2 separate regions of the Homo sapiens genome follow, and region 2 is linked to region 1. Evidence: promoter capture Hi-C in 16 types of primary human blood cells and fetal thymus (Javierre and others, 2016). All regions are on one chromosome and are shown on one strand. Each heading gives the region's core, a stretch centred on a gene start or on the middle of the fragment in contact. The rest is flanking DNA. Distances are from core to core; before and after follow the strand shown.

Region 1 (3,309 bases), core at 295-2,794:
TACAAAATTAGCCAGGCATGGTGGTGCATCATGCCTGTAATCCCAGCTACTCAGGAGGCTGAGGCAGGAGAATCACTTGAACCCGGGAGGCAGAGGTTGCAGTGAGCCAAGATTGTGCCACTGCACTCCAGCCTGGGCGACAAGAAGGAAACTTCGTCTCAAAAAAAAAAAAAAAAAAAAAAAAAGGAATACAACAGACACTGGTATGTAATGCAGGCACACTCATTTGGGGTAGCAGGAGGTTAAACCTTTAAGTCTTAGTCATCCCATTGGCTCGTGAGCACTGAGAGGGTGGTGGGACATGGATCACCCAGGCTTGGGATTCTGGGGTCTGGATTCGGGACCTCTGTTGTGGTCAGATAGAAGAAGGGGTGGTGAATTTAGAATCAGACCAGGAGAGTCCCTGGATAAGAGCAGGGACAATTTGGGTCACAGAGTAGCTAACAGGCTGGGGACAAAAGGTGGGGTGGGTTTGGGGTTCTGGGCTTGAGTTAGGGGAGAGTTTCCAATGCTGGCTGAGGCTCATACAGGAAGCCAGTCTGGGAAGTGGGTGGTGACAGGGTCTGCAATACCAAGTAGGAGCAGGGGCTCTGGCTAGGCCGGAAGCCACGTGGGCAGGATTTCCTGGTATAATGGGAAATGGGTCTACCGGAGGCCAAAGGAGAGGCTGGAATGTGAGGCTCTATCGGGTTGGAGCTGGTAGTTAGATCCAGAGGGGAACCAGATTCCAAAACCCAAGTACTCGGTGAGACTAAGGATCCTGAAGGGGGACGGTTCTACACTCTAGGAAGGGGGTCCTGGGTGTGGGCAGGGACAGGAATATCAGAGTAGCACAGAGTTCCTTGTTCCGTTTAGAAAAGGAGTGGCGACTCCGGATCTGAATGGGAACCCCGGATCAAGATCCCGGAAAGTAGATCCCGGGACAGACCAAAGTATTGGGGGTCCAGACTACGGAGGTGGGGGGGCGATGGGAGATCCCAGATAGGAAGTGAATACCCGAATAGGATGAGGGATCATCTAGAAGAATTTGGGGTCCAAACTTTGAGGCAGAGTTCTGGGTATAAATGTTAACTGCCGAACAGAATTAGGGAGAACCCCCAAGACTCGTCTAGGGGACTCCAGACTATGAAGAAGTTCTAGGGGGTGAATAGGGAATCCCACGCAAAAATCGGAGCAGGGAGTGGGGGAGCGGAGATCCAGGGCAGGGACTCAGGGTCCCAATGGTACTGGGGTCCCGGAGTTGAATCGAAGCTCCTGAAAATCCAGACTGGGGGGGTGAGAATCCTAGGTGTGAACAGCGGGGTCCCTGGGCAGTATCGGGGATCACAACTCCGAAGCGGGGTCCGGGAGTGGGGAAAGGGATGGGCGCGCGCGCCTTACCTGATGCCGCCAGCGGAAGAGACTGGCCGTGTCGATGTTGGGGTGCGTCTCGTCTTCATCATCAGACACCTCAATGTGGTCCCACACGCTGTAGTCCACCATCTTGCCTTGGCGGCCCAGCCCGCTCCGGCTCGGGTGGCGGCGACGGCGGCAGCAGTGGAGACTAGGAGCGCGGAGCCCCGCCCCTTCCGCTTCCGCCGAGCGCGGGAAACCCCGCCCTGTGTGACGTCACATCCCTAGTAACCGCGGCAGCGGCACTAGCTACCCAGCCAGCCTTAAAGGGCCCTGCGTAAGTGTTCCGGCCCCCTGGAGTTCCCGCAGAGACTCCGCGTCATCGGGCGCTGGGGCTCCGCTAGGTCTCCTGGGGGCATATGAGTGCGCGCTTCAACTCCGAGCCCCCCTCATCTCCCGCCGCTCCACGGTGGGCGTTTGGGGTGGCAGGGAGGGGACGGTTGATGAGACTGAGAGGACTGTCCCCTCAGCCACGCCGCAGTGACGTCTGCAAGGGGTAGGGACACGGCGGGAAGGCCCTCCCCCTGCCCTTCGTAAACGGGGACCTAAGCCTGCGCTGGAGAGGGGCGCCTGATGACTCCTCGGACTTTCTCAGCCCGAGGAGGACTGGACCTGCCCTGGGGGTGTCTAAATCGGGGGTGGTATGGCCCTCCCCTTGCAGGGTTAAACGTGGAGGGGAGACTGTGGCCCTGCCTTGGGAGCTGGGGTTTCCCCGCCTCGGCAACAGCCTTCTCCTTGTCTTCCACCTCCTGCCATTCGCAGCGAGGACTCGCGCGAGCGCGCGCGCGCACACACACACACACACACACACACACGCACACACACACACACACACACTTTGGAATCACCCGGACCCCCTCAAAACGGGTCTCGGCTCCCCACCCCGCTGGCCGCTGGGTGTCGCTAGAGTCTAGCCCACGGCGCGTATTCCTGGCCCCGCGCTTGGTGGGGGGAATCGTGGAGGGGTGGAAGGGGGCTTTCCTTGTCGTCACAGTCTGGGGCCACGCATAGCCCCTCCCCGTTCGTCTTGGGGTACGCTTCCTCCGCCGGGGCTCTAAGGACTCCATTACTCTAAGCATGCAGGGCCTCGACCACCTCACACTTCCATGCATCCCAATCCACGCTTTGATACCAGGATAATAGGCCGTGTTGCAGCCTTGGGCCAGGATTATCTCAGATTAAAGGGTGCTCCCTCGGGGGTCAGGCTGGATAGGAGGAGCTCCAGCCACTCCGGTGAGGGGCGCCTCTTCCTAGTCTCCCCTGGAGCCGACGTTGGAGGCAGTGCCTGGAGAGAGCGAGCGAAGTTCTCCAGAAGGGGGAGGATTCCCCGGTGCATGGAGCGGGAAGGGCCATCGGACAAAAACGTCCTCCCGCTGCCGCCCTTCCCCCTCGCGCTTCATTCAAACCCGCGAGTGGGCGGGCAGGGGCGGGGGAGTCCCCATCTCCTACCCCTCCCTCTTCCCCTCCACCCTGGCAGTCCAGCACATCAGTGGCCGTCACGGCCCGGGCACGCGCGCGCACGGACCCACACCCCGGCGGCTCTCACAATCGCACACACACATACACACACACACCAGCAAACAAAGGGTCTGGACACCCCCGTCCCCTCCCGCCCCCCAGGCCAGGGAGGGCGGGGCATCCCCTCCCCAGGCCCCCCGCAAGGTAAGCTTGGGGCTGCGAGCTGCGGTGGGGAGGGGGACACGGTGCCACAGTGGGAGGGGGCCAGGAAGGTAGGGGGTTCCCCGGCTCCCCAGGAAAGTCGTACCCCCACCCCCACCGTATGCCCTTTAGGGATTCGGCCCCGTCATCAGCCTGGGGGTGTTTGGAGAGAATCCCAGATGTCGGGGATTCCCGGATAGGCGCGGGGGTCTCTTCCTGGCTCTGGAGACTGGAGCTGCCCAGCTTCAGCAAAACAGG
Region 2 (3,295 bases), core at 288-2,787, 220 kb after region 1:
TTTTGAGACACTCGCTCTGTCACCCAGGCTGGAGTGCAGTGGCACGATCTCGGCTCATTGCAACCTCCGCCTCTCGGGTTGAAGTGATTCTCCTGCCTCAGCCTCCCAAGTAGCTGGGACTACAGGTGCACACCACAACATCCAGCTAATTTTTGTATTTTTAGTACAGACGGGGTTTCACCAAGTTGGCCAGGATGGTCTCGATCTCTTGACCTCATGATCCGCCCACCTCGGCCTCCCAAAGTGCTGGGATTATAGGTGTTAGCCACCACACCCAGCCTATTTTCTTTTTTCTTTTTCTTTTTGGAGACAGAGTCTCACTCTGTCCCCCAGGTTGGAGTGCAGTGAGGCAATCTTGGCTCACTGCAACCTCCACCTCCTGGGTTTAAGCGATTCTCCTGCCTCAGCTTCCCAAGTAGCTGGGATTACAGGCATGTGCCACCACACTGGCTAATGTTTGTATTTTTAGTAGAGAAGGGGTTTCACCATGTTGGCCAGGCTGGCTTAGAAATCCTGATCGACCTGCCTCAGCCTCCCAGAGTGCTGGGATTACAGGCATGAGCCACTGCACCTGGCCTATGCCTGCTCTTTGAGGTCAGTTTTGGTTTCATACTTTAGCCTCATTTTGCAGTTGAGGAAACTGAGGCTTAAGGAAGATAAGCCCTTTGTTAAGTATCCTCTAGTTCAGAGGGTGCAGAAGGAGCATTTGAATTCAGGGCGACCCAGGAGGATGTGGGCTCCACAAGGGTGGAGATTGGGTCTCTCTGGTTCCTCACTGTATGCGGTGCCCCGCCCAAGGCCTGCACCCACTAAGGGCTGAATAAATACTTGTTCTAAGACCAGGCCCAGTAGTGCACGCAGGTAATCCCAGCACTTTGGGGGGCCACGGTGGGAGGAGCCCACGAGTCCAGGAGTTAAAGATGAGCCTGGGCAACATAGCAACATCCCATCTCTACAAAAAAAATTAAAAATTAGCCGAGTGCAGTAGAGCACCTGTAGTCCCAGCTACTCAGGAGGCTTAGTCAGGAGGATGGCTTGAGGCAGGGAGGTCGAGACTGCGATGAGCTGTGATTGCACCACTGCACTCCAGCCTGGGCAACAGAGGGAGATCCTGTCTCAAAAAAAAAAAGCAGCAGACAGAAAGAAAACTAATTTCCTGCACAGCTTGGAGAAGTTTTCAGCACCAACATTCCACAGTTGGTTGTCTGGGTTTGGGCAGTAGGCCGTTTTCCCTCCCAGTGCCTCAGTTTCCACACCTGCAAAACGAAGCCACGGAAACGCCCTTTCAGGGTGGCCAGGGGTTCTAGGCGGCATCGCCCGGTGGCAGGGTGTTCCCAGGGTGAAGCCGCAGGGTTCCCGGGTGGGGGCGGGGAAGGCTAAATGCGGCCGGCCGGTGAGTGGCGGGAGCAGCTGCAGCCCCGCCCGCGCCCTCCCGGGTCCCTTAGTCTGGGCAGCTGCCCAGCTCGGGCCGGTCTGACCGGTTTGGGCCGCCCCGCCTGGCGCTGTGCTGGGAGGAGCCGCCGCCAGTCGCGCGGTCAGTGCCTCCCTCCAGACTCGGGAGGGTCGAGGGGGCGCGGGAGAGAGCGCGGGCGGCCGCCGGGGCTGGTCGCCTGCAGGGATGGGGGACGAGCGGCCCCACTACTACGGGAAACACGGTAGGCAGCGACCCCCGCCCGTAGCCCCGGGCCGACCCCTCGGTCCCTCGGAGGGGGCCTTGAGAGAACATGGGGCGCAGGGAAGGGGGCTGGAGGGGGAGCGCAATTGCAAATCTGCGCCTGGAGCCTCCCCACCATCAGCCAGGCCCCTTCACCCCACTTATCCCCCGCAGCCTCGCAGACGACCCTCCTTACTCTCCCCTACCCGAAGGACCTGCCCCTGTACCCCTCTGCCTGGCACTGCTGCCGGCGCCTCCTTCCCCCTATCCCACCTCAGATCTTCCCCATCTCCACCTGGTTCCGTGGTGGTCACCATTTCAGCCCTCTTCCCAGTGGGTGGCCGCCAGTTAATAAGTTTGTTCACAGTTAGTGATCCCTCCTTCCTCCCCTGTCCTGGCCTGCCAGAACTGGGGGCTTGGGTGTGGTCACCTGGAGGTGGGTGAGGCAGAAAATTCCACAGGTCTCTGAATTTTATTCTTGCCAAGGCAAAGACACCCCTAGGGGCTTTTGGGAGGGGGCTCTCCCAGCCCTGTCTTGGTTCAGGTCTCCAATCCCATCCATCTTAATCTTCTTGACTTTCAGGAACGCCACAGAAGTATGATCCCACTTTCAAAGGACCCATTTACAATAGGTAAGAGCTCTGGGTTTTGGGGGGTTCTCCCCGCTAATACTACCCCAATCCCTGTCTCTTCACACCCCCTCCCATCTGTTCTCCAACAAACTGGTGACAAATATTTGAAACTTTTTTTTTTTTTTGAGATGGAGTCTTGCTCTGTCACCAGGCTGGAGTGCCGTGGCGCGATCTCAATCTCGGCTCACTGCAACCTTCGCCTCCCGGGTTCGAGCAATTCTCCCACCTCAGTCTCCCAAGTAGCTGGGATTACAGGCTTGCACCACCACACCTGGCTAATTTTTTTTTTTTTTTGTACTTTTAGCAGAGATGTTTCGCTGTGTTGCCCATGCTGGTCTCGACCTCGTGAGCTCAAAGCGATCCACCTGCCTTGGCCTCCCAAAGTGCTGGGATTACAGGTGTGAGTTACCACACCTGGCCTGGACTTAATTTTTACCATGTTTATATTTATTTATTTATTTATTTATTTTTGAGATGGAGTCTCACTCTGTCACCCAGGCTGGAGTGGTGCAATCTCAGCTCACTGCAACCTTCCCCTCCTGGTTCAAGCACGTCTTCTGTCTCAGCCTCTCCAGTAGCTGTGACTACTCAGAGGCTACTCAGAAGGCTGAGGCAGGAGAATTGCTTGAATCTGGGAGGTGGAGGTTGCAGTAAGCTGAGATTGCGCCACTGCACTCCAGCCTGGAGGACAAGAGCGAGACTCTGTCTCAAAAAAAAATAACAAAAAAATAAAATACAGCCAGGCACGGTGGCTCACACCTATAATCCCAGCACTTTGGGAGGCCAAGGCAGGTGGATCACTTGAGGTTAGGAGTTCGAGACCAGCCTGGCTAACATGGTGAAACCCTGTCTCTACTAAAAATACAAGAATTAGCTGGGCATGGTGGCGGGCACCTATAATCCCAGCTACTTGGGAGACTGAGGCAGGAGAATCGCTTGAACCTGGGAGGTAGAGGTTGCAGTAAGCTGAGATCGTTCCACTGCACTCCAGCCTGGGCGACAGAGTGAG

The links. The method cuts DNA at HindIII sites, captures the fragments that hold promoters and counts their contacts. A CHiCAGO score of 5 or more calls a contact.
Region 2: a contact is called between the fragment with the promoter of SLC44A2 here and the fragment with the promoter of CDC37 in region 1, in 1 of 17 cell types (activated CD4 T cells). The highest score is 5.4, in activated CD4 T cells.

The regions. Positions count from the first base shown.
Region 1 is chr19:10,401,998-10,405,306 of GRCh38, forward strand. It overlaps CDC37 (cell division cycle 37, HSP90 cochaperone), which reads right to left and starts at 1,545. Exons shown (of 8, transcript NM_007065.4): 1 at 1,381-1,545. The coding sequence starts at 1,482. MIR1181 (microRNA 1181) reads right to left here and starts at 1,541; the gene lies at 1,461-1,541. RefSeq lists silencers at 1,261-1,320, 3,031-3,080 and an enhancer at 1,721-2,070. The HindIII fragment of the contact is 3,760 bases long and covers 1-3,057 here.
Region 2 is chr19:10,624,016-10,627,310 of GRCh38, forward strand. It overlaps SLC44A2 (solute carrier family 44 member 2 (CTL2 blood group)), which reads left to right and starts at 1,538. Exons shown (of 22, transcript NM_020428.4): 1 at 1,538-1,655; 2 at 2,238-2,286. The coding sequence starts at 1,619. RefSeq lists an enhancer at 1-577. The HindIII fragment of the contact is 23,966 bases long and covers 1-3,295 here.